Linked DNA regions of Homo sapiens: all the other regions are linked to region 1. The links are contacts of gene promoters, found by promoter capture Hi-C in blood cells and fetal thymus (Javierre and others, 2016). All regions are on one chromosome and are shown on one strand. The core of a region is centred on a gene start or on the middle of the fragment in contact, and the rest is flanking DNA. Distances in the headings are between cores, read along the strand shown. Region 1 holds the start of LRRC4 (leucine rich repeat containing 4). Region 2 has its middle 35 kb from the start of LEP. Region 3 overlaps SND1 (staphylococcal nuclease and tudor domain containing 1). Region 4 has its middle 5.3 kb from the start of LEP. Region 5 overlaps SND1 (staphylococcal nuclease and tudor domain containing 1). Region 6 overlaps SND1 (staphylococcal nuclease and tudor domain containing 1). Region 7 overlaps SND1 (staphylococcal nuclease and tudor domain containing 1).

Region 1 (3,295 bases), core at 284-2,783:
TTCTTGAGGGAGCTCAGGCCATGGAAGGAGCCAGGCCTGATCTCAGGGAAGTGGTTCCCTGACATCTCCAGCTCCTCCAGCCCCACCAGGGGGGTGAGATTGGGCATGTCTTTAATGTTGCACATGCCCAAGTTCAGATACTTGAGGTTGAACAGCCCCTCAAAAGCTCCCTCAGAGATATACTCCAGCTTCTTGAGCTCCCCCAAGTCCAGGCGCATGAGGGAGGGCACCCGGTTGAAGGCGTAAGAGGGGATGCTTTCGATGGGGTTGTTGCGAAGCCAGAGCTCCCGCAGCTTGGACAGGTATTCAAAGGCCCCGCTAGGGATGACTGTCAGCCAGTTGTCGAACAGCTCCAGGGTGTTGAGGCTGGCCAGGCCGTTGAAGGCCCCCACCTCAATCTGCCGGATGGAGTTCCTGCCCAACTGCAGGACCTCCAGGTGGTGGAGGTGGCGGAAGGTGTCGGCCTGGATCATCTGGATGTTGTTCTCCATGAGGTTGAGGTACCGGGTGTTCGAGGGAATACCCTGCGGGACCTCGGAGAGGCCCCGGCGCGTGCACACCACCTTGCTGAACTGGTTACTGCACGAGCAGACGGAGGGGCAGTTCTGGGGCCCGGCTGAGGCGGCAGCAGCGATGGCTGCACACAGAATCCACACTTGCGCCGTGAGGTAGACGAACGGGAGCAGGATGGCATTCCAGGTGTGGTGGTGCACAGTTACCTGCCACAAGAGCTTCATGGTGTGGCACGTTCATAATTCACCATCGCCTGGGATTTTGGCTCGGAAAGGAGAACCAGCCCTACCCCGGCTTAAGTGAGCTAGGAGCTCCTCTTTCCATCTGGAGAAGGAGGTGGGGAGGGGGCGATTAGAGAGACGGAGCGGATCGGCCGAAAAAAATCCTGCCAAACTCGAGCGGCCCCTGGTCTCCCAACCCACCCTCAAGGCAAGCCCTCCGAAAGCTACGACTCTCCCACACTGCAACCGTCCCCACCCAGTTCGCCGTCACCTACCTCGGAAGGAAGGCAGGAAAGCACTGGCGTGGTGTCCTTAAGCTTTCTCCACGGGAGCTGGGCACCTCGTTCCCATTCCGACTTCTTAGTTTTAATTAACAAAAGGGGGAAGTGGTGGGGGCGGGGAGGGCAGAGGGGAGGGGAGGGGAGGGGAGGGAAGGGGTGGGGGAGACAAAATGGCCTCTAGTAAATCCGGAGCCGGAGCCGGCGAAGCCGCGGAGTTGAGGCGCGCCTGGGAGAGCCAAGGCCCGGCGGGCTATGCAGGTGCATGCCCCCCCCTCCGCCCAAGGAGCGGCGCCACCAGCGCTTCCCGGCTTTGTCCTTGGACCCTGGCACCGGCTCGCTCCAGCCGCGGGGGAAGGCGCTTCATCGCCAAAGTGCGCTCCGGCGGCCCCGGCCCGCTCTGCGGGCCGCCGCCGGAGGGAGTGCGGGGGCGCCCCGAAGCCGCCCAGGCCGCACTCGCTGGATGCTGCGCTCCCTCTCCCGGCGTCGGCCGCTCCGGGCCGGCGGCAGCTGATTGCGGTCGTGAGCTCGCGGAGCGGCGAGAGTTAAGAGGAGGTGTTCGCGGCGCCTTCGCCCTCCCCAGACACACACCCCCTTTCTCCTCGCCTCTTCTCGGAGGGTGGAAGAGACAAAAACGGGGGGTCAGTTCTCCAGTCCGCCGGCTGCCGGCACGCGGGGCGGCGCTCCGTCCGGCCCCCGAGGACCAGCGGCGTGGCGGCTGCGCTCGGACCCGGTCCGCCGGCCGGAGGAGCGCGCGGCGCCCGCGGTCGCGCCCGCACCGCAGGCCCCTTCAGAGAGTCCGGGGGCGGGCGCGGGTCCGGCGGCGGCGGCGGCCGCAGCCCCCGGCGGCGCGCAACCGCCCGTCGCCGCCCGCCGCTGCCCGGCCCCCGGCGCGCCGCCGGCTCCGGCTTTGTGCGGAGGGAGCGAGTTCGCGGCTTCGGCTCCCGGCGCCCTCAGTGGCCGCGCCGCCAGCGGACTGCTGCAGCGGCGTGAGCAGCGGGGGTCGCGGCTGCGGGAAACGCTCCGGAGCCCAGGAACATAGTCCCCGCTGGCTAGCGGCGGCAGCAGCAGCAGCGGGGCCCCTGCGCGCGGCGCCCACCGTCTCCTCCTCGCGCCGGGCTCGCGGTGTTGCAGGCGGCAGCCACGCAGACTGCTCTCTCATCCTTTTGTCCTTCAGTCAGAACGTGAATGTACTGCTGACGCATACTGTTCTGGGAGAAGATTAGCGTGATGCAGTGCTCTTATGTATTAGCGCCGCTCCCCCTCCGTCGCCTGCCTCGCGGGGTTAACGCCGGCGCCTTCCAGCGCCGCGCCGGCCGGCGCCGCGCAGCCCCGCGCCTCCGGCCGCCCGTCTTCCTCTTTCCTCCTTCCTTCCTCCTCTCTTCCTCTCTCCCCCTCCCCCCTCCCCCCTCCCCGGGCCGCTTCCTCCCCGCCCCCTCTAGACGAGCGGAGCGGGGCCAGGGCGAGCGGGCGAGCGAGCCGGAGTGAGCGTCAAGTGAGGGGCCGCGCGCAAGTCGCAGGCGTTCGCAGCTATTTTGGGCCGGTCGGAGGGAGCAGTTGGGTGGCCGCTGATAGGCTGGAGCGGCGCGGGGCTGCGGCGGGAGAGCCCGCGCCGGCCCCCGCCCTCCGGCCCGCACCCGGGGCCCCCTGGCTCTGAAGAGCGGGGCTCAGGGGCCCGGCGGCCCGCGGCGGGGCTGCTGCATTTGGCCTGCCTCTCGCCCGGCCCGCGTCATCCTCACCCCCGCTGACTGCTGACGGGGCGCGGACTCGCGTTCGGAGTTCGGAACTGCGTGGTGGGGACTCGGGGGACGGCGGCCGGGGCCACGAGGCTCCCAGGACCGAGAGCCCGGGCTTCGCTGCTGCACTGCCGCCAGCCCCTCCTTCGCTTTGCCTCACCCCTCCTGTGCTCTCACTGGGGCTTTAAATGAGGGTTTCCTTAATGAGGGTTGCGGGGGCGGGAAACAGTGGCAGGAATGACCAAGTGTGATGAGCTGGGGAATGGCAACCTGGGACAGCACAGAGGCCGGCAGGAAGGATTGAGGTGAACTCCCGGAGCCCACGACACAGCCCGTTCATTCATGGAGCTGCAGCCGCGGCTTCTCAGTCTTCGCTGGCCGGAGTCGCCCCTTGCTCCCCGCTGCCCCCAGAGAACTGGGGGAAGGGAGGCGGGCGGCTGAGCCCCCTGCCCTGTGAGCTCGCCAGCCCTTCCTTGGCTAGGACTCTGAGAAGAACTGCGTAGCAGCCAGGGGTAGCGATTGGGAGTGGGGGTGGAATTCTTGCTCC
Region 2 (3,772 bases), core at 293-2,792, 240 kb after region 1:
CAGGAGTTCTCCAGGTAGAGGGATGGAGGGGGCTTGCTGGGGATAGACGAACAGTGTTTTTAAAGTTCCCAGGCAAGAGAGAGGCCCTGGAACCTTGAAAACAGTATGTTCAGTGGAAGAAGCCAGAAACAAAGGGCCACATGCTATGTGATTCCATCTGTAGACAGTGTTCAGGATGAGTAAATCCATAGAGACAGAAAGCGGGTTGGTATTTGCCAGGGTTGGGAGAGGGAATGGGCAATAACTGCTAATAGGCAGAAGTTCTTTTTGGGGTGATAAAAATGCTGTGGAATGAGACAGCAGTGACTGTTGCACAATCTTGTGAATATATCAAGACCCATTGAATTTTGTACTTTAAAATGGTGAATTGTATGGTATATGAATTATATCTCAATTTTTTAAAAAGAGAGGCCCTGAGTTCCACTGAGCAACTGAATGAAGCGCAGCTCCCTTGGCATGAAAGGGGGAGTTGGGCCAGGCCAGATCACACAAGGTCCACTTCAAATGGACTTTGTGCTGAGGGCTGGGGGAACCAGTAGAAGGCTCTAAGCTAAGAGGTGACATGGTCAGATTTGCACTTTAGGAAGGTCACTGTGGCTGAAGTGTGGAGAATGCACTGGGTGGGGGATAGATAGACCAGTTAGGAGGCTGCTGCCCCAGTCCAGATGAGGGATCCTGGTGACCAGAACCAGTGGTAGCAGGGAAGGAGAAAAGAAGGCTTCAAGGGAGAGGCAGGAGCAGAATGGACAGCTTTGGTGATTGCTGGGTGCAGGGGTAGGGTGAGAAGAGTGGCTGAGGCAAATGGGACTGGGGACCACTGATTGTGGGAGGAGTGGGGAAGAGGGGCTGAGCTCCATGGGCTTGGGCCAGGTAGAGTTTGAGGCACCTGCAAGAGCCCCAAGGGGACTTGAGGAGGAGGTGTTCTGCTCCGGGGGTGGCACTGAGGAGACAGCCTAGATAGGCAGGGAGATCTGGGGGCGAGGCACCAGCAGGCAGGATCACCCTGCCCTGGGAGAGTGTGGGGGAGAGAGGGCCGAGGGCCAGGAAGAGCCCTGGGGAATCCCAAAATGTGAGGAACAAGGAGAGAGGAAGCAGAAACCAGGAACCAATCAGAAGAGAGGGCTACATGGGGGCCCAGAGAGGCAATGTCTTGAGAATATGGCAGTGCCAGCTATGCAGAGCGTCAATGGAGATCACACAGGTGGGATTCGGGGACAGTTCAGTTGCTTGGAGAACCTGAGGAGGACAGCTTCAGCACTGTGGTTGGACTAAAAGGAGACCAAAGTATATTGAGGAGGGAGAGTGGGGGAGGAAGTGGAAACTGGTTCTTGGAACAAGTTACTGAATGGGAGATGTGATGAGGGAGTGGGAAGGAGAGCTTGAGGGGGAGGCAGGGCAGACCTGGAGCATGGGCCTGGGAAGCACATCTGTTTGAATTCTGAGAGCCTGGGCCTGGCCATCATGGTGGCTTATGCCTGTAATCCTAGCACTTTGGGAGGCCAAGGAGGGAGGATCACTTGAGGCCAGGAGTTTGAGACCAGCCTGGGCATACTGAGACCCTGTCTCTATCAAAAATTTAAAAAAGAAAAAAATTAGCCAGGTATGGTGGCAAACACCTGTGGTCCTAGCTACTCAAAAGGCTGAGGCAGGAGGATCGCTTGAGCTGGGGAAGTTGAGGCTTCAGTGAACTATGATCACCCCACTGCACTCCAGCCTGGGTGACAGAGCAAGATCCTGTCTCAAAATAATAAAAAAAATAAAAAGAAAATAAAAAGAATTCTGAGAGCCTGGAGAGCAGGAGGGATAAACATTGGGCTGAGGTGTCTAAGGAAGTGGGGGGGCAGGGGTTCAGAATTCAGAGCACCAGGTGCTCTGGCCTCAGAAGGGAGGAGGGTTGGGGTCTTTTCTTCCAGCAGGAGGGTGAAGGCAAGCACAGACCTGAGGTGGTGGGCGTGCAGGTTTGTAGACTTGGAGATGAGGAAAGGGAATTGTCATGTGGGTACTATTTTGCCACAGAAGCAGGACACAAAGTCAAATGCTGAGGTTGTGGGGAAAACTGGAGGGGCTGACCAAACTTATGTCAGAACCTGCTGAGAGAGCCGTGAACTGGTTGTTAAACATAGCTATTTTTAAAAATTAAATTATAATAGATCCACGCAAATAGGCCCAACTGATTTTGACAAAGGTACAAAGGCAATTCAAGAGAAGAAGGAGAGCTCTTTCTTTCTTTTTCTTTCTTTCTTTCTTTCTTTCCTTCCTTCTTTCCTTCCCTCCTTCTTTCTTTCTTTCTTTCTTTTTTTTTTTTTTTTTTTTTTTTCAGACGGAGTCTCTCTCTGATGCCCAGGCTAGAGTGCAGTGGCGAGATCTCAGCTCACTGCAACCTCCGCCTCCTGGGTTCAAGTGATTCTCCTGCCTCAGCCTCCCAAGTAGCTGGGATTATAGGTGTGCACCACCACACCCGGCTAAATTTTGTATTTTTAGTAGAGATGGGGGTTTCACCATGTTGGCCAGGCTGGTCTCAAACTCCTGACCTCAGGCGATCCACCCACCTCGGCCTCCCAAAGTACTGGGATTACAGGCATGAGCCACTGCGCCTGGCCCTGGGAGAGCTTTTTCAACAAATGTTGGAGCAACTGGACCTCATAAAAATTAAAAAACTTTTGCTCTGTGAAAAATCTAGTTGAGAAGATGAGAAAACAAGCTACAGACTGGGAGAAAATATATGCAAACTACATATCTGACAAAGGACAGTATCTAGACTATATAAAGAACTCTCCAAACGCAAGAGTGAAAAAACAATATAATTTTAAAAATAAGCAAAAGACATGAACAGACTTTTCACTGAAGAGGATATGCAGATAGCAAATAGCATGCACATGAAAAGATGTTTAACATCGTTAGACATTAGGGAAATGCACAGCGAGCTATCACTGCACACCTACCAGAATGACTAAAATAAAAAATAATGATAAAACCAAATGCTCTCAAGGATGTGGAAAACTGAGGCCAGGCGTGGTGGCTCACTTCTGTAATTCCAGCACCTTGGGAGGCCAAGGTGGGTGGATCACTTGAGATCAGGTGTTCGAGACCAGCCTGGCCCAGCGTGGCAAAACCCCGTCTCTACCAAAAATGGCCAGGTGTGGTGGCTCACTCCTGTAATCCCAGCACTTTGGGAGGCCGAGGCAGGCAGATCACCTGAGGTCAGGAGTTTCAGACTAGCCTGGCCAACACGTGAAACCCTGTCTCTACTGAAAATACAAAAATTAGCCAAGCGTGGTGGCAGGCGCCTGTAATCCCAGCTACTTGGGAGGCTGAGGTGGGAGAATCACTTGAACTGGGGAGGCGGAGGTTGCAGTGAGCTGAGATCACGCCACTGCACTCCAACCTGGACAATAAGAGTGAGACGCTGTCTCAAAAAAAAAAAAAAAAGGTTATGGAAAACTGGATCACTTATCATGTATTGCTGCTGAGGATGCAAAATGGAACAGCCATTCTGGAAAACAGTATGGCTGTTTCTTACAAAGTTAAACATGTGCGAACCATATGACCCAGCAACTGTACACCTAGACATTTATCTGAGAGAATGAAAACATAATGTTCACACAAAAGCTTGCATATGAATATTCACAGCAGTTTTATTTGTAATAGCCAAAAACTGGAAACAACCCCAATGTCTTTCAATGGGTGAATGGTTAAATAAACTGTGGTACATCCATACCATGGAATATTAATCAACAAGAAAAAGAAATGAACTACTGATACATGCACCAGC
Region 3 (3,474 bases), core at 635-3,134, 210 kb before region 1:
GAGGAGGTATTGGCGAATTCAGATATTGATCAAATTTAGATAATATTATAAAGTGAGTTTATTTCTAATCCCATAGGTAGCATATTTTGTTTAAAGTGACCTTGATATTTAAAGTGAAAGAGAGATTTGTTGTGATTTATGTTATAGAGTGATGCATTTTATTTACTCATATCATAGTCAACACTTAAGCAATGAAGGATTTGCGCTGGTATTAAATATTGAGTATGACGACAACAAAATGAAGCAGAAATGCTGCTTTATTAAAAAATGTAGGCAAACTTTTTAAAAAAGTAAATAACTACTTTTGTAAATGCAGTGCTATATTTTTATACTATCCTTTTCCCATGGTGGTATCTTTAAGTTTCCACTGATTTTAAATAATACCCCTTTCAAAATTAAGTGCATATTGACTGCACTAGGTGATAGAAAAAAATCTGATTTTATATACATCCACAGCAATAGTGTTATTTGTCATCTCAGAAAACTTATCTACCAGTTCTTTTAATTCTTCAAGGAAAGGCAGTTGGTGCTTTGTTCTTGGGAAAGTATTGAGGTTTTATTTTGTTTTTATAAGCCATATTCCGTGATGTAGATGAAATCTGTTTTCTCTCCTTGTTCATTGGAGACATAACAAGTGTTCAAGGCCACCTCTGTGGTTTTCCTTCTTGCTACCTGATTCTTGATAAGTTGTTTATTCTAAGGACTGAAGCAATTAGGTTTGGGATCCATTTCAGCTCTGTATAGCCTAGAATGAAAATTCTGATCTTTATCCATTTTCATTGTCCCAATTACTTTATCTTTTCTTCTCTTCCGTCACTTCAGCAAGAGTAGCAGTCCCAGTGCTAAAAAAAAGATGGAGTATTCCTTTAATGTTTGCACATATATGAGACTCCTCATGCATTCTTTTTTTTTTCAGCTTGCTTTAAAAAATACTTGATGAGCAGTGGAATGTCATCATTTTTAGTAGTTCTAACCATTTTGCTGTTGTTTACCATCCTGTTTTCTTAGTTCCTGACCTTGGAAAGCTTTACAAACCTCTAATCTTCATCTTCTTTGTGACTAACCCCATTGTCTTCCACCTCAGATGGTGTATTTGCCAAATTTTTGGTCTGTTTTCTGGAATGTATGTACAACTATAATAGTTTTGTTACTTGAAAGGGAGTAGAAACATGTGGACACCGAATAAAAATTGGTGGGTTGATTACAAGCCAGCTGGAGAATTATATGTAGGGAATCTAATCTCCCTTATTGACAGTAATATATGTGTCACTGCTTTTTAGAAATGACAGTTACTAATGTTACCTTAAAACATATATTTTTTTTAAATAAGAGACAGAGCCTTGCTCTGTCACCAAGGCTGGAGTGCAATGGCGCGATGTGGGCTCACTGCAATCTCCGCCTCCCGGGTTCAAGTGATTCTCCTGCCTTAGTCTCCTGAGTAGCTGGGACTACAGGCGCATGCCACCACACCTGGCTAATTTTTGTATTTTTAGTAGAGATGGGGTTTCACCATGTTGGCCAGGATGGTCTCAATCTCCTGACCACATGATCCACCTGCCTTGGCCTCCCAAAGTGCTGGGGTGACAGGCGTGAGCCACTGCTCCTGGCCACCTTTTTTTTTTTTTGAAACTGAATTTTGTTCTTGTTGCCCAGGCTGAAGTGTAGTGGTATGATCTTGGTTCACTACAACCTCTGCCTCCCAGGTTCAAGCAATTCTTGTGCCTCAACCTCCCGAGTAGCTGGGATTAATAGTGTGTGCCACCATGCCCAGCTAATTTTTGTACTTTAGTAGAGACGGGATTTCGCCATGTTGGCCAGGCTGGTCTTGAACTCCCGACTTCAGGTGATCCGCCCACCCCGGCCTCCCAAAGTGTGGGATTACAGGCGTGAGCCACCGCACCTGGCCAGAACATACCTGAACCATGAATATCTTCCATGTCTCTTCTGTATTTTTTTCTGATTATAAAAGCAATATATGTTTATTATGCTAAGTTTGGCAAGTATAAAGGAAAAATAAAAGTAATTCAAATAACATTTTGGTGTATTTTCTTTCACTTATACATTTATATTCTAATCTGTCTGTGTGTCCTTTTTTAAAATGGACAATGGAGGCCGGGCGTGGTGGCTCATGCCTGTAATCCCAGCACTTTGGGAAGCCGAGGCGGTGGATCACCTGAGGTCAGGAGTTTGAGACCACCTGGCCAACATGGCGAAACCCCCATCTCTACTAAAAATACAAAAATTAGCTGGGCATGGTGGCAGGTGCCCATAATCCCAGCTACTTGGGAGGCTGAGGCAGGTGAATTACTTGAACCTAGGAGGTGGAGGTTGCAGTGAGCCAAGATTGCGCCACCACACTCCAGCCTGGGCCACAAGAGCGAAACTCAGTCTCAAAAATAAAATAAAGTTGACAGTGGATTCTGAACATCTCCTCACATCCTTAAATAAACTTTTATGTATTGATTTTAATGGCTTTATGTTATTTTATTCCATGAGTATATAATTTATTTAACTGGTGTATGTTCATCTTATTTTTTTTTGAACTATGGTGATGTGGTTTTATTTTGTTTTAATAAACAAGCCATACTGTATATTGGTATCAACTAGATTCACTAAGCCCTACAAAATTATAGTCATCTAGATTTGAGAGGATGTAAAGATTAGAAGAGTTAAAGACAAAAATCTTCTATGTCTATTTATTGACAGTGTTGAGCACTTTCTTACATAGGATTTGGTCATTTAAGAAGCTTGATAGATTTTTCCCATCCTTTTATGTCCTTGTATTTTATCTCATTGAAAAAGTCAACGTTTTTTGTTTCCTGGGGTTTTACTTCTCTCATATTAAACCTTAATTTCATTCCCTTTTTTATCTTAAATACCATTTAGCCTAGGTACTAATGATTAATTTATGATTCCCTTATTTTAAAACAACATAGCAACAAATACTCCCTTTTTTAAATTTTTAAAATTTTTGACGTGCTTTTATATAGATCAGCAAGAGGTATAGCTGTAGAGTGGATAGTTTTGGAGAGAGCCAGAGTCATTAACAGAATTTGGAGGTCTCTGTATGTCAGTCTTCTTGTGGACCACCCTCTTAGCCATCTCCCTGTGTCATTCATTTCTTTTAAAGGGTAGCTTCTAAAATGACTCCAACTTGGAAGGCCCTTGGGCTGGCCTTTCCAGACTGAAGTTCAATCCAGGCATAAAATAGACTTTCTTTATTGAAATGATGTTGATACTATACCTTTTACGTGGTTTCCTATCCTCGCACTTCAGATATTATTCTGATATTTAGGATCTTAGTTATAACTCTTTTAGTAACTAGATGTTTAAACTTGGGGAAGCCACATAACTTCTGAATCTGTTTTCTCTTACAGTGTATGAGTGCTCTAGGTGATAACTGTGGCCCTTTTCATTCTGATTTAAAGTAAAGCTTTCATTTTAATTTATCCCTTAAAAGCTCACTTAACCAAT
Region 4 (3,803 bases), core at 85-2,584, 200 kb after region 1:
AGGAAATAAGCATGAGTATTTGCAGAGATTTATCTATAAGATTATGCATGAGAGCCTTATTTATAAAAGAGAAAAATCATTGAAAATGACCTAAATTTTCATTCATAGAGTTTGACTAAATAATTTATGGCATATTCACACAATGCAGGAGTTGTAAATTACATCATGGAAGAATATTTAATGACATGAAAAGAAACTTAAGGCATTTGCAAAATACTGTGTACTACATGATACTATTTCTGATAGTAAAAAATATATACAAACGTAGAGACACAAGGGAGAGAGAAAAGTCATGTATCAAAAATATAAAACTTTCATGATTTCAGGGTAGTGGATTAATAAGAAATTTTAATTCTCTTTTCTGGATGTTTTCTATGATGTTCACTATTTGTTTAATCAGAATAAAAGATACTCTATTTTTGAAAATGATATCTCCTGGCACAGGACAATGATTCCCATCTGAGGCACATGCGGGTAGGAGGTGGGTGCTGGGGAGCTGCACTGCTTAGGCCAGGAGAGTCCCCCTGAGCTCCCGGCTGCTGGGACACACTTCTCAGCCATGCCCTCCTCTGCAAAGTGCCATACAGCAACCCTGGTTATGCAACAAGCTGCCTCGGCCCTGGGCAAACAGATCCTCTGACTCCTCGGCTCCATTACAGGCCATAATGGGACAACCAGACCTCAGGCCCGATGGTTGCATAAAAGCAGGATGGATAGATTTTTCTGGTCACTGTGTTCCACCCAGCTGAGCAGGCATATTCAGACTCCTTCCCTGCTGTACTGCTTAGCTCATGCGAAGCAGGAGCCTTCTTCAGGCAGCCTTCCGGACTAACTCCACTATGCCGTGTGCTTCAAAAGCCCCTGCTCTAATCCATAATGAACACTTGCAGAGTACTCTACTTGTAATAATCCAAACGATTCTCATGACAACACTATAAGTGGGTACTGTGATGCTTTTGTGACAAATGAAGCAACGGAGGCAGAGAGAGCACAAGCGATTACCCAAAGTACTATGCAGAGCCAGGATTCAAACCCAGGCAGTGCAGCCCCAGGGTCAGCCCGGAAGACACCACGCCATGCAGCCCCCTGGCAGATAATTGCTATCACAGCCACATTTGCATGGTGATTCTGAGTTGTTTCCAAATTTTTGCTGGAAGACTATGGATTCCTCGAAGGCATGAATTGTGACTTTCACTTCCGTGGGACCATCCAGGGCCCAGCAGAGCACTGAGTGCACAGGGCCTTCCCAGGGGCTTGCATTCTCGGCTCTGAAGCCCGCCTTCTTTCCTACTCCAGCTGCAGGTGCAAGTGGTGAATCCTACTGAGCCATAATCTTGCTGCTAGAGGCTTATCTAGAGGTGCTTATGCAAGCAGTCTGGCAAAACACCTCTTTAGGGACAAACGTAGAGCTGGAGACTTGGGACGCCTCAGGATGTGTCAGATCACAGCTTTCTGCAGGGCACAAGGCTTCTTGCTGCTTCTCCAGAACATCTCTCCAAATGCCTGTGCAGCCCTGGGTACCTGGGCAGGGTCCAGCTCTACAAAGGATCATGGCTCGAGTCCTTCCGCTCCAATGGGAAAGACCAACCAAGTGAGAGAAAGAGCATGCCGCCCAGAGGGGGAGCTGGTTGCCATTGTCCTCTTGGCTGTCATTTGTTTCTTCAGGGTTTCCAGGCTGGCTTCCAACCGAGGATGTAAGAGGCTGTTACCAAGTCCAGGCAGATCAGCACAAACATATTAACAGGGGTTATCTCAGCGTGGTGTGATGAGGGATGACTTTTTCTCATGGCTTTGCTTCTCTGCCTTTTCTAATTTTCTGCAATGCACATGATTATTTGGGCAATTAAATAATTACAGGGAGGGGAAAGTCACTGTTCTTGCTTTGTCCCTTGCAGGACTCTTTCCCCACACTTATATGGGCTGCTAAGCTCCAATGTGCCCTCTATTGCATGTGGCTTCCACCGAGCTCTTTCTGATCTTCACACCAGCAAACTCCCATCTCTACTCTGTCCTTTCCACACCCTTCACTGTGTACTGATCTGCTCAAATCCTTGCAGATTATAAAATGTTTCACTGGCCCGAGCCTGCTGGTCCCCACAACCCTGATTTCAAAAGAAGTCATCTTTTGTGTCCTTGCAGAGCGTGCCTGGATTGTGTCTCTATCCTTGGTCCCTTACCTGGACTGTAGCCCCAGTTAACTGCTGAATACCAGCAGCTGGGTGTCCTCAGCAACCATGTCCACATGAAGCATCTTAGTCTCACCCACTCCTTCTGTGTCTCTACGAGCAGCATTGAGCTGTAGATGGGAAAGTGTATGGAAATATGATCACTTTTTCCCTAGGGCAAAGAGGGTTGGTGTTCTTTTCTTCAAAATTTATTTTGAATCTGTCTTTTCTGTCTCCCCACTACCCCTCACTCATGCTCCTGAGTCACTGCTGAGCTCCAGGGCTGTACCTTTCTCATTTTGGAATCTCTAGGATCTAGCATAGTACCCAGTGCACAGTATGCCTTCAATGTATGCCTCTTGGTTCAATGAATGAATGCATGAAAAAATGGGCAAATAAGTAAGTTTTAATAATTTGTCACCTTGATTTTTATTTCTTGCAATCCTTCCTGTATTTCTTGCAATCCTTGTTTTATTCCTTGCAATCCTTCCTATATGTCTCTGCCAGTTGAATCTTCCAAAGTGGTGACTCGACCACGTGAATCTCCTCTGGTGACTTTAATGGCTCCCACTGTCTGCGAAGGCCTTTCAAAACCCAGCTGCTTGTTACCTTTCTTTGCAAGGATTTTCTCTCTCACTCCTCAAAGCTCCATTCTGGCTGACTTGGCCTCTCTGTATCCTTTCCTGCCCTTGTTGAGTTGCCCTTTTCTCTGTGTAGCCACTTAGCTGCCTGTGCTGATACTTGCTGCTGGCTAAGCTTGTCATAAGTTCAGTGTGACACCCTTTCCCGTGATGGGCTGATTACAGTAAGGTCCCAATCTAGTGGTGCCTCCCTCTATTGCTGGGTTGGGTAATCTCCCAGTTACTCTGGGTTTGACCATGTGACTTGCTTTGGTCAACAGGAAACAGGATGTTAGCAGAGACTTGAAAAGTGCTTGCTCATTGGGGTTTGCCATCTTTTGCTGCTCTAGGGAATCCAGCAGCTGTCACCATGTAAACAAGCCCAGGCTAGACCAGTTACCCTCATCATCTTAGCTGATAGCCAGCCAGCCACCACAGGCATGAGTCAGGCCATATTGCTGGACCCACAGAATTATGAGCTAAATAAATAGTCTTGGGTTAAGCCACTAAGTTTTAGGCATAGTGTGTTATGTATCTCACAAACATATAAGACTGTGTGTTTGTTGACTGGAGGAAGAGATGCTATAAAGACCACCTTTTAAAACTTCCCAAATACTGCCACTGATGTCCTGATGGAGGTATGAAAACATCCACTAAAATTTGTGGTTTATTCATTTTTCATTATTTTGTTTAAGGAGGTCTATAGTGGAAGAGGGAGATATTTGGGGAAATTTTGTATAGACTAGCTTTCACGATGTTAGGGAATTATTATTGTGTGATAATGGTCTTGCAGTTACACAGAAATTCTTCCTTATTTTTTGGGAAGCACCAAAGTAGGGATAAAATGTCATGATGTGTGCAATACACTTTAAAATGTTTTTGCCAAAATAATTAATGAAGCAAATATGGAAAATAATAATTATTAAATCTAGGTGATGGGTATATTGTAGTTCACTATAGTATTGCACACTTTTCTGTATGTTTAAATTTTTCATTTAAAAAACTTTGAGCTAGACAC
Region 5 (3,474 bases), core at 558-3,057, 230 kb before region 1:
TCCCTACTGTCAGTGCTTTCTTTGACTTTTCACTTCATTCATGATGTCTTTTCAGTACAGAACTTTTAAAATTTTAGTGGAGCCACACATTTCAACCTTTTTTAAATATATAATTTGTTACTATTAAAAAATTTTTATTTTTTACACTTTAAAAAATGAGATCAAATATACATATAAAATTTACCATCTTCACCATTTTGAGTGTATATCAGTGGCAATCAATTTATATTCTTTTTTCTGCCTTCATTTCTCCCTCATTTATAATAATCCTACAGTATCCCAAGGTCATTTAGTTTTGGGGTACAATGTTTAAGAATGGGCTAGGTAAAATTAGGCCTGAATGGGGGTTGAGAATAAGGACTTGATTCAAGTTCTCTTTCATTCCCTCCTAATGAACATTGGCCAGACTCCCAATTTTGGCAACCAGCCAAAAATACCTTCCTGAAAAAATGCTAGCTGTATCTTCAGATGCTGAGATGTGGATATTGGGCCTCCTTCCCAAACTGATGAGAGGTACAGATGACTGACGTTACCTCTTCCATCTCTAATGTGAGTCATTGCAGGGCCTACATGCAATGTCATTTCTCAGGATGAACAGTGATTACAGCACATATTGGTTTGTGTATTATCCACCCACGAGTTTATGAAGCAAGCATTTTTTCCTATTTTTATTTTTTAAAAAATATTTCCATGTAAATTAGAATCTAAACTAGACAGTTCTGTTTAAGCAGGCAAAATTCAGCTAAAGTCCTGTTTTCTGAGAATTGAGAATACATTCCATACCTCACTTGCCTCTTGGAGATTTCAAAGGCTTTTATATACCTGGTAATTTGCAGGAATTGCTTTTATTTTGTGGTTTCTCAGGGACTTCTAATATCTCTCTTGTAAGATGTTTGCAGATGTCAATAGCTACTAGCTCTGAGGGGTTAGAGTAACAAGATCATTCTGTGGTATCTTGTTTTCTGCTTGTGCTATTAGTTCTTTTCTAGCTTCATGAGAGACATATAATCAGACTCTGAAGGTGCCTTGTTTTTTATTGGGATGTTTGTTGATACACTTTTTATTTTCCTTCATTCTTTTGAGGGTATTTTGTCCTGTGGAGTGTCTTAAAAGCAAGATTCTTATTTAGACAAACATTTTCAAACATTTAGTTGTACCTCAACCCATAATCTTCATTTGAAGGCTCATTGGAACAGTGTTTCTTACCTTTTATTCCTAGTTTTGGAATTACAGCCAACTGACATTCCTTTCTACCTCTGTGCTGTTTCAGAATATGTGGGGAGACAGATGTAGCGGTGCATGCTTATAGTCCTAGCTACTCAGGAGGCCGAGATGGGAGGACTGCCTGAAGCCAGGAGTTCAAGACTAGCCTGAGCAACATAGTAAGACCCCATATCTTTAAAAAAAAAAAAATGTAGGTAAGTTGCAGGATTTTGGGTTCTGAGGCAAATCATAAGGCTATGTAAGGTCAGTGTCGTTATTTTGTTCAATTCATTTTTCAAAATGTTCACTTAGTCTTTAGTAATCACAGAGCTACCCTCAGAAAATAGAATGTCCACTGTTGTTTGGTGAATATGAGTACGCTGACACTTCTTTATTCCTGAGGGCTGGTTGTGATAACCATTGATTTTGTCTTTATTTAAAATCCTGTTTATTACCGGCACCTGGTATCTTCTGTCTGGCAAGCATTCTTACGTATGATTGAGCGCCATCACCAACTCTGCTTTACAGCTTATGTTACACTTGGCTCCTTAAGAGATCTCTGATTTGTAATCTATTTTTATAAAATATCCATAATCCTGTACATCTGTCCCTTGTGTTAACCAGGATTCCCCTAACCCAGGCAATTTCTATGCATCCCATTTCCTTTATTTTCTATAAGAAAACCTCAATGTTATTTTGTTCCTCTAAAGATTTTCATGTTTACGGTCATATCCTTCCCATTAGACAGTGATCATGACACACCTGGGCCTTGATCAGAGCTCAGCCACCCCAGAGGCTTCTATCTGGAGTATGTTGATTTCCACATATGATCTGGGAGAAGGAGCTACCTTAAGTTTCTAGAAGAGCACTGGAATGATGATCATTATGCCCTCTGCCCCCACTTTTTTTAACAGGAGGTAGAAAACAGCTGATTAGTGAATATGAAACTCAAATTTCCTTGACACTGAAAGTGTTATCTGCATTCTCATAAGAGATTTTCTTGGTCGTAGTCAATGAATTGAAATGTTTGTATGTGCTAGAGGCATGGAGGCTTAGTTTGCATCGAGGAGGAAGCATCTATTTCATAGATCCCCTTAACCATAATATCGACCTTAGGATGATTTTTAAATGGGGCATTGAAATGATGAAGGCTGTTTACTTAAGAGTAGCGGCTATTTAGGAAAAAATGTAATATCTGCTTTGAGTACAGTTTGGACTGCACAGAGGTGTCTTGTTTTGTCAGGTGCATAATAGGTGGCAAAGGTTCGGCCAGATTGGATAAGCATAGAGGATGTGGAATCAATGGTGTACATCTAGGGTAGGGGTTAGTCCTTGATTTTCTCCTGTCTTTCTATACTTTTTGCAAATATTTTCCTGGAGGTTCTCAAGTCTGCAAAGCAGTCCTGTTCTCCTAGCATACTTGATCTTTGTATATCAGTCTGCATGTTTCTTTGGAGCTACTTAAATCTAACTGTAGTTATTGAGTATGTACTAATGAGGGAGGTACTGTACTTGGCTCTGGGGAGTTAAAGAAAAACAAATGGGTCTTTTTTGTCTTGGAACTTATAGGCTTCTGGGAGGGAAACATTAAAGTGAAGTATACCAACTGGTGTAGTCAGGATCTCTTATTTCTTATACAAAGACAAAAGTCTCTTGACTTACGCATGTCATCATGACTCCACATTGGATTCCTACTCCTTTATCCTCCCTTTCTACACCATTGTCAGTTCCCGTTAATTCATTTCTTCAAGTGGTTCTCATCATCTCTCGGGCTCCTGTCCTTTCCTACTTCTGTTACCTTCATCTAGATAGACCCTCTTATATCATCTAAAAATGGCATTGCTTAGAATAGCCACCTCTTTTAGGAGAAGTCTGGGGCCTATGAGATAATGAAGTAAGTGTGTATGTGTTGACATACTATTTCTTCCTGCCTCTCTTCTTTTGGTTTTTCTGTTTTTTCCAACTTTAATTTTCCTCCTATTTCTTTACTATCCTGCAAACTCATATTAAATCTGACCTTGTCAATGAAACATTTCCTGATTACTTCTTTCCACTTCCCTGAACACTTATAGCATTTAGTCCCTAGTCTGTATCACATGTATTAGCATAGCACTTAATCAAAACACTTGTCCAGGTGTGATGGCTCAGGCCTGTAATCCCAGCACTTTGGGTGGGAGGCAGAGGCAGGTGGATCATTTGAGGTCAGGAGTTTGAGACCAGCCTAGCCAATAGGTGAAACCCCATCTCTACTAAAAATACAAAAATTAGCTG
Region 6 (3,695 bases), core at 661-3,160, 240 kb before region 1:
CAGTGGCACAATCACGGCTTACTGTAGCCTCTTGACCTCCTCAGCTCCTGCCTTGACCTCCTGCCTCAGCCTCCCAAGTAGCTGGGACTACAGGGACACAGCACCACACCTTTTCTGGTAGAGATGATATCTCACTATGCTGCTCAGGCTGGTTGAGAAGTTCTGGCCTCAAGTAATCCTTCCACCTTGGCCTCCCACAGTGCTGGGATTATAGGAGTAAGCCACCATGCCCGGCCAGGAATGCATTTAGATTGACCAGTGGAAGGAAGGAAGGGAAGTCAAAGTAGAAATTAATTGGAAGATGAACAGCATAGAGAAACAAGGGCTAGTCATGAAGCCCTCCTCCAAGATTTTTTAATAACTGCTTGAGTTTTGTGGGATGATTCCTGAGTATGCAGAGACAGAAGTGATATTGATTCATCTTGTGAATTCTGATGCATGCTCTTCACAGAAGGAAAGAGAAAAATCTTATATGAGTTTATTAGTGGTGAGATGACATTCTTTAAGAAATACCATCCTTGATGGCCATTGGGGAACTTGAGCCATTTAAGCCTTTTGGCCTAAAAGTGATCTAACAATTCAATATCTTTCTGGGTGACTGTAATTGCTAGATGTTCGATAGTCATGAAATTTAGTTAGCATTCTTGCTGTTGAATTGATTCTTAGTGTTTATTTGCAAAACCTCAAATGTGTATCTAAAGTCTTGAATGCTTTCTCATAGTTATTCATTGTATACTCAGTAGATATGAAATATCAATTTTACAGGCTACCAAAATGGTATTTAATGGTGGCTGACAGGATAGTGTTTAAGGACAATATGTATTGGATACTTAAATTTTTCTATTACCTGATTCTTGGCACAGATCATTGAATTTAAGTTATACTGAGATTGCAGAAGATCTGCCTGCCTCAATAACCCCAGCTATGCTGCATGTTTATTTAGTCCTGGTTCCTTCCTGTGCCTTCTGCTTTCTAAGCATGTACAGAAGAAAATAAAACAATTATTTGGTTTCTACCTTAACATCTGCTTGCATCAGGAAAGATGTCTAAAAAAAATTTGAGGGACATTTTTGCGGACACTTCCTGAAGCCTGGACCAGTTTTATGTGATTTGTTGACATCCTTTTTTTTTTTCTTTACCCTTTTCTAATGCCTGCTTCTTCAATTATCCTTAAAGACCCAGGGTTTTACCACACTGCAACTTAAAATTTGAGGGTAAATTTGGTAAATCTTGAGCTCCTTAAAAGATGATCTGTTTTATACCCATTTCATTTTTCTCTTGAATTTCATTTTAAATTGATCGCTATGTATTTTAGGCTTATGCATTGCCCTTTTAATGGCTTCTTGGATAAAATACATTGTTCAGTTAGATAAGTAAAGAAGTCATCTGGATTACTGAGCATGACTCACTTAAAATCTCATTGGGAACAATTTCTCTGCCCACTCCTTGTTAACTATGTATTCTGCTGGTATGCAGAACTTAACTGTTCTAAAGAGTTAAAATAAGCCATGGAGATCAGGATTTGGGGTAACAGCCCTCCCTTCAAGACAAGGACTATGAGTTTCTTTACTCCACTTTTTCCTTGACTGGCTCTTGGTTTTCCTTATCCCTTTTGCTATAGATTTCTTTGCTGCATAGTGTTTTTTTGTTTTGTTTTGTTTTGTTTGTTTGTTTGTTTGTTTGTTTTTTGAGACGGAGTTTCGCTCTGTCGCCCAGGCTGGAGTGCAGTGGCGCGATCTCGACTCACTGCTAGCTCCGCCTCCCGGGTTCACGCCATTCTCCTGCCTCAGCCTCCCGTGTAGCTGGGACTACAGGCGCGCGCCACCATGCCCGGCTAATTTTTGTATTTTTAGTAGAGACGGGGTTTCACCGTGTTAGCCAGGATGGTCTCGATCTCCTAACCTCGTGATCCGCCCATCTCGGCCTCCCAAAGTGCTGGGATTACAGGCGTGAGCCACCGCGCCCGGCCTTGTTTGTTTTTAAGAAAGAAATTAGCATATGAGTTAAACTACAAGGAAGTTTGGAATGATTAATGGATGTGATATCCTGTACATAACCCATTTTTTAGTGGCTCTCTGAATAAGAAATCCCTTTGTGACTGGCCCAGATTGCATATTTGCTTGTAGTTTCTACCCCATCTCCTTGTGAGGGAACCTCTGGTACATACTTTAAACTTCTCATCATTGTCATCTGCTCATTGGCACACCTTTTCTTCTGTCTTTTTATGCTTTTTGTTTGTTGGTTTTTATTGATTTTCCTTTGTTTGTTTGTTTTTGAGGGGGGACAGGGCCTTGCTCTGTTACCCAGGTTATAGTACAGTGGCTGTATCCTAGCTCACTGCAGCCTCAAATTGCTGGGCTCAAGCTATCCTCCTGCCTCAGCCTCCCAAGTACCTGGTTCTACAGCTGTGTACTACCATGCCTGCCTAATATTTAAATTTTCATTGTAAAGTCAAGGTCTCACTATGTTGCCCAGGCTGGTCTTGAACTCTTAGGCTCAAGGCAGTTGCCTTCCAATTTTTAAGGCTGTGTAGCTTTCCTGATAATAATGGGAAGTTGGTTTTTCATTTGATCCTCTGAGAATCTGTTGATTTGTGTTGATGTTTTAATGTGCCACAAGTATTTCCTGTTAGCTGCCTGCAGATACAGAGGACTTTTGAAATTTTGCTCTTTGTTCCTTTTCCTTCTCTCTCTGTTCTTCCTTTCCTTCCTCCCTGGCTCCCAATTTGGATTAAAACTTAATGAGTAAGAGGCCTAAAAGACGTAAGACATTTACACAACTGTAGATTTATTATCTTTGAATTTTTGAAAATGAACTTTTAAAGGCTTCTTTTCTATTTTTTAAGGTTTTCAAGTCATGCCAGTGTCTGTGCAGACTGACAACTAGCACTGGGGGAGGGGAGGGGAAGAAGTTGCATTTATCCAAACATTTTCTGAAGGGATCTAACTTTGATTTCCTTTCTATGACCTGATTTAATGGAGACATTTCCACCTCAAAGGAGGATTTCAGGAATGCATATATTCTCACTAGTAGGCGAAACGGGTGCTGCTTTGATTTCTCACACCCTTGGTTGAATATGAATGTTACAATGTGGCATGTTTTCCAGGAATCATAGGGAATTGACCCATTTTATGTAACATTTACAGGCCGATGGGCATTTAGAGTTAGAAGGAACATCATTTAGATCTAGTCAACCCTTTCTCTCTCTTTTTTTAAACAGAGAAGGAAATGAAAGTCCAGAGAGATTAAGTAATTTTATTCAACAAATATTAATTGAGTGTATAACATGTGTCAGACTCAGTACTAGGTGCTGGAGGCTACAGAGATGAATAAGTTTGAGTCCCTGTTGGAGACAAATACATGGTTCCCAGATCATACAGTTTGTAATTAGCAGATTAGAGAATAGAATATTTATGAATCATTCATAATCCAGTCTTTCTGTATTGTGACAGAAATGCTCTCAGCTGTCCTTTTTTGTACCTTTTAATTTACTCATTTAATAAAGTCGATTTTCACTTTTTAAACAAAATAAAATCCATGTTCTCTCTTGACCCAATACCCTCCTTTAGCTGCCATTCTTTCTTGAAAGATTCGTGTACATTAATCATGTACATTTGATCAACTATGCGACCCACTAAAATCTGACTGAAACTGCTCTTGCTGAACTTCCAGTGGGCATGTTTTGGTCTTCAGAA
Region 7 (3,559 bases), core at 872-3,371, 190 kb before region 1:
TATATAGCCCTTGGTCATGTATTCGTAAAATACTTGCATACAAAACATTTCAGGAATATCTTAAAAAGGAGAACCCATCTATATTAATCAGTTTCTTCTCTCATGCCGTTTTATACATACTTACCCACAAACACAAAATTCAGGTTATCATTTATTTAGACGAAGATGTTGCTAAGATTTACACTGGTTTTAATTGAAGCTGTTAAAACCATGGTTCTTTTTCAAGTGATTGACAGGTCAGTGTTGAATATCTTGAGATGAAAAATTCCAGGGTAGAGGAAGAGATCTCAGAATCCACAGGGGAGGGACACAAATGCTAATTACACATTGACTTTAATTCCTGATTTGTCATAGCTGCCTGCAGGTGTATATCTTGGCTGTGGGCTATTCTCCGGGCCTCATTTGTATTTCAGATTTTCTTTAATAATGTTGCATCCACAAATAACTGTTTAATCTCTGACTTATTTACAGTTCTTATTCTCTTGATATGGGAAACAATTAATTGGCAGGTGAATGTAGTTGTTTCTTTTGGTTATTGAAGATTAAAATTTTTTTGTCTTCCCACTGATTTCCCTGGAAGACAGTTTTGGAACAGCACCTCACTTTGGCCTTCTGGCCTGAGAGATACACAGGTGTTCACTTTTGTTTGTTATTCCTCCTATTATTACTCCCACACATGTGGCATAGTGAATTAGCCCTCTTGATGAATTAGCTCTCTCTCTGGGTTGAGAGCTAATGTTCCTCTGTGCTAAACAGCTGCTGTCCCACCCCTGTCTGCCTACTGAGAAGGAGATTTGGCATTGGGAGGCACAAGGTAACCTTGAGATTAACTTAGTTTTTTTTTTTAAGCAGTGCTGATTTTTTCCCTAGGTAGTAGAATTGAGGGCTTGAGCTTGTTAGATGGATTGGGTGAAAACACGAAAGATACATGGACCTCGTTCCTCATTTCCACATATTTATTAACTTCCCAGCGAATGCCCCCAAATTGGACCATACCCTGTGGCCTTGTCCTATTTAAAATGGGCCCTGAGATACTTTACATGGTATAGCCACCTTCACTGTCTACCTTCTGTACACTCGTGATTTTTTGCCATGACTCCAGCTATCTTGTTGTTTTCCTCACCTGCTTCTATAAGCTTGTTGTGAGGCCTTGTCTGAGGAGAGTTCCAGGGTGTATTAGCATCAAGACCACTTCTTCCCTTCCCTGGTTCTGAGTTACTCAGGCCTGTCTGTGTGCAGCCCTCTCATTCCTTGCCCTTTTTTTGGCCTATATTAACTCTGGCCAGCAGCATGCAGGGAAAGTATTAAAAACCTTTTTGTTGGAGGGCACTAGTTGTTCAATCCCCCTGTCTGAACACATTTCTCACATTTTTACTCATTTCCTGAGTTTTATAGTAGTTGTTAAGACCTTGCAATAATTTAAAGCTAGGTATCTAATTTTAGGAGTCATCTTTATATTTTCTTACTTTCTGTGTTGTTGTGCTATGACCATACTTCTCATAAGAATGATTTACCTTAACCTCAGCCCTTAATTGGCTTGGGCTCTGATATGGCTCCATTCTGCTGCTTCTAAAGCATGATTCAATGGAGTGTTCAAGTGGGTGATCTGACAGTTGGAATTTTGAGGCATCTATCCTTTTCCAGATTTCCATGTTCATTTTCAAGATGAGTTTTTGAAGAGAAGACAGTTTGAAAGGATTTTAACGGTGCTCACTAGCAGTGTGGCTGAACTCCATGCTTCTGCAATATGCTGTCTTTAAGCTGATCAGTGAGAGCTGAAGATGTATTTAGAAAAGGGATTCCAGACTGTGGAGAAGGCTTCCGTCTCCTTGATCCCCATGCACCTCTTCAGTGTGGGTTTGTAAACCTTGGTTTTGACCCAAACCAAGCCTACAACTTCATTCTGTGAAGACTTGCCCTATATGTTTGCTACAGGATACTATGTTTATCTTCAAAGTTTTCATAATAAAAAAGCATTGTTTAGTGTGTTCATATCCATTTATTTAGTGTATTCTAGGGTTAAACCATTTTTGCATTTTGTGCGTCTAACTTCCTGTCTGCAAAATTAATTCAAAATCTAAGGATTCATCTAGTCCATTCTATCTCCCCTACCTGCACACTGCTTAACTCTCAAGTATGTTGGTGTTGGGCTTAATTAGCTGTATCTTTTTGATTTACATACTGTGAAACCAATTCCAAGCATCTTTGTAATTGTTATCTTGTTTGTTCTTCTATGTATTTATTTATTTATATTTTTTATTTTTCAGAGAGATGGGGGTCTTGCTTTGTTTCCCAGACTGGTCTTGAACTCCTGGCCTCAAGCAATTCTTCTACCTGGGCCTTCCAAAGTGCTGCAGTTATAGGAGCAAGCTATTGTGCCCACCTTGTTTGTTGTTCTTAATAACTCTTAATCTGGTCCTTAGGAAGCTGTGACAGACAGATTATATGGAGTTTTTCTATGGAGGCAGTTCATATTTTTAAATACAGGTTTTCAAAGTAGTCTGACCCAGAAGAGGTTAAAGCACTGCTTTATCATAATGTCTAGGAGTCCAACAGGAATGTTGCAAACCTCTTCTCTGTAAAGTAAAATTGCTGTGGGGACCTATGTGTTTAGTTGTTTGATTTACATCTTTGGTTATCAGCTTTTTTCTTTCTTTTTAAAATGGACTTTTTTTTTTAGAGCAGTTTTGGATTAACAGGAGAATTGAGCAGAAGTTACAGAGATTTCCCATATACCTTCTGCCCCCTACACACAATCTTCCACACCAGAGTGGTATATTTATTACAATTGTTGAGCCTACCTTAACACATCATTATCACACAAAGTCCATAGGGTTTGTGCTTGGTGTTATATCATCTGTGGGCTTTGATATATGTATAGTGGCATGTATTCACCACTATAGTGTCGTACAGAATAGTTTCATTACGCTAAAAATTCCCTATTCTCTGCCTATAACTCCTGGCAAAATTCCTTCTCTCCTTCTAACTCCTGGCAACCACTGATATTTTTATTGTCTTTGTAGTTTAACCTTTTCTAGAATGTCGTATAGTTGGAATCATACAGTACACCTTTTAAAGTGTCTGCTTTCACTTAGTAATATATGTCTAAGCTTCCTCCATGTCTTTTCATGGCTTGATAGCTCATTTCTTTTTATCACTGAATAATATTCTGTCATCTGGATATACCACAATTTATCCATTCACCTACTGAAGGATATATGGATTCCTTCCACATTTTGACAGTTATGAACAAAGCCACTGTTAATATCCATGGGCAGGTTTTGTGTATGTTTTCAACTCCTCAAGTAAATTTCAAGGAGCTGTATTCCTGGATCAAATGGTAAGAGTACATGTTCAGTTCTATAAGAAATGACTAAACTATCTTCCAAAGTGGCTGTATCATTTTGCATTCCTACCATCAATGAATTAGAGTTCCTATTGCTCCACATCCTTGCCTGCCTTTGGTGTTGTCAGTGTTCTGAATTTTGACTATGCTACAACGAGCAGTGGTATCTCATTGTTGTTTAAGTTGGCAATTTTCTAATCACATGTAATGTAG

What was found. Contacts are between HindIII fragments. The CHiCAGO score rates a contact against its expected background, and 5 or more counts as called.
Region 2: a contact is called between a fragment that was not itself captured here and the fragment with the promoter of LRRC4 in region 1, in 1 of 17 cell types (neutrophils). The highest score is 5.0, in neutrophils.
Region 3: a fragment that was not itself captured here is called in contact with the fragment with the promoter of LRRC4 in region 1 in 2 of 17 cell types (M0 macrophages and neutrophils); the score reaches 6.1 in M0 macrophages.
Region 4: a fragment that was not itself captured here is called in contact with the fragment with the promoter of LRRC4 in region 1 in 1 of 17 cell types (neutrophils); the score reaches 6.1 in neutrophils.
Region 5: a contact is called between a fragment that was not itself captured here and the fragment with the promoter of LRRC4 in region 1, in 1 of 17 cell types (M2 macrophages). The highest score is 5.7, in M2 macrophages.
Region 6: a contact is called between a fragment that was not itself captured here and the fragment with the promoter of LRRC4 in region 1, in 3 of 17 cell types (neutrophils, M2 macrophages and M0 macrophages). The highest score is 8.4, in neutrophils.
Region 7: a contact is called between a fragment that was not itself captured here and the fragment with the promoter of LRRC4 in region 1, in 2 of 17 cell types (M2 macrophages and neutrophils). The highest score is 6.0, in M2 macrophages.

Annotation. Positions count from the first base shown.
Region 1 is chr7:128,029,904-128,033,198 of GRCh38, forward strand. It overlaps LRRC4 (leucine rich repeat containing 4), which reads right to left and starts at 1,534. Exons shown (of 2, transcript NM_022143.5): 1 at 1,010-1,534; 2 at 1-837. The coding sequence starts at 737. The region is part of intron 16 of SND1 (staphylococcal nuclease and tudor domain containing 1); the gene reads left to right. RefSeq lists silencers at 1,978-2,097, 2,748-2,817. The HindIII fragment of the contact is 11,709 bases long and covers 1,050-3,295 here.
Region 2 is chr7:128,274,881-128,278,652 of GRCh38, forward strand. No RefSeq gene overlaps it. Among named protein-coding and RNA genes, the nearest start is that of LEP, 35 kb to the left of the region's middle. The HindIII fragment of the contact is 4,130 bases long and covers 1-3,607 here.
Region 3 is chr7:127,823,800-127,827,273 of GRCh38, forward strand. All of the region lies in intron 11 of SND1 (staphylococcal nuclease and tudor domain containing 1), which reads left to right. Among named protein-coding and RNA genes, the nearest start is that of SND1-IT1, 170 kb to the right of the region's middle. The HindIII fragment of the contact is 1,722 bases long and covers 1,024-2,745 here.
Region 4 is chr7:128,234,081-128,237,883 of GRCh38, forward strand. No RefSeq gene overlaps it. Among named protein-coding and RNA genes, the nearest start is that of LEP, 5.3 kb to the right of the region's middle. RefSeq lists an enhancer at 3,015-3,154. The HindIII fragment of the contact is 3,169 bases long and covers 1-2,919 here.
Region 5 is chr7:127,803,343-127,806,816 of GRCh38, forward strand. The region is part of intron 10 of SND1 (staphylococcal nuclease and tudor domain containing 1); the gene reads left to right. Among named protein-coding and RNA genes, the nearest start is that of SND1, 150 kb to the left of the region's middle. The HindIII fragment of the contact is 4,814 bases long and covers 1-3,474 here.
Region 6 is chr7:127,784,973-127,788,667 of GRCh38, forward strand. The region is part of intron 10 of SND1 (staphylococcal nuclease and tudor domain containing 1); the gene reads left to right. Among named protein-coding and RNA genes, the nearest start is that of SND1, 130 kb to the left of the region's middle. The HindIII fragment of the contact is 4,854 bases long and covers 1-3,695 here.
Region 7 is chr7:127,840,433-127,843,991 of GRCh38, forward strand. All of the region lies in intron 11 of SND1 (staphylococcal nuclease and tudor domain containing 1), which reads left to right. Among named protein-coding and RNA genes, the nearest start is that of SND1-IT1, 160 kb to the right of the region's middle. The HindIII fragment of the contact is 1,974 bases long and covers 1,135-3,108 here.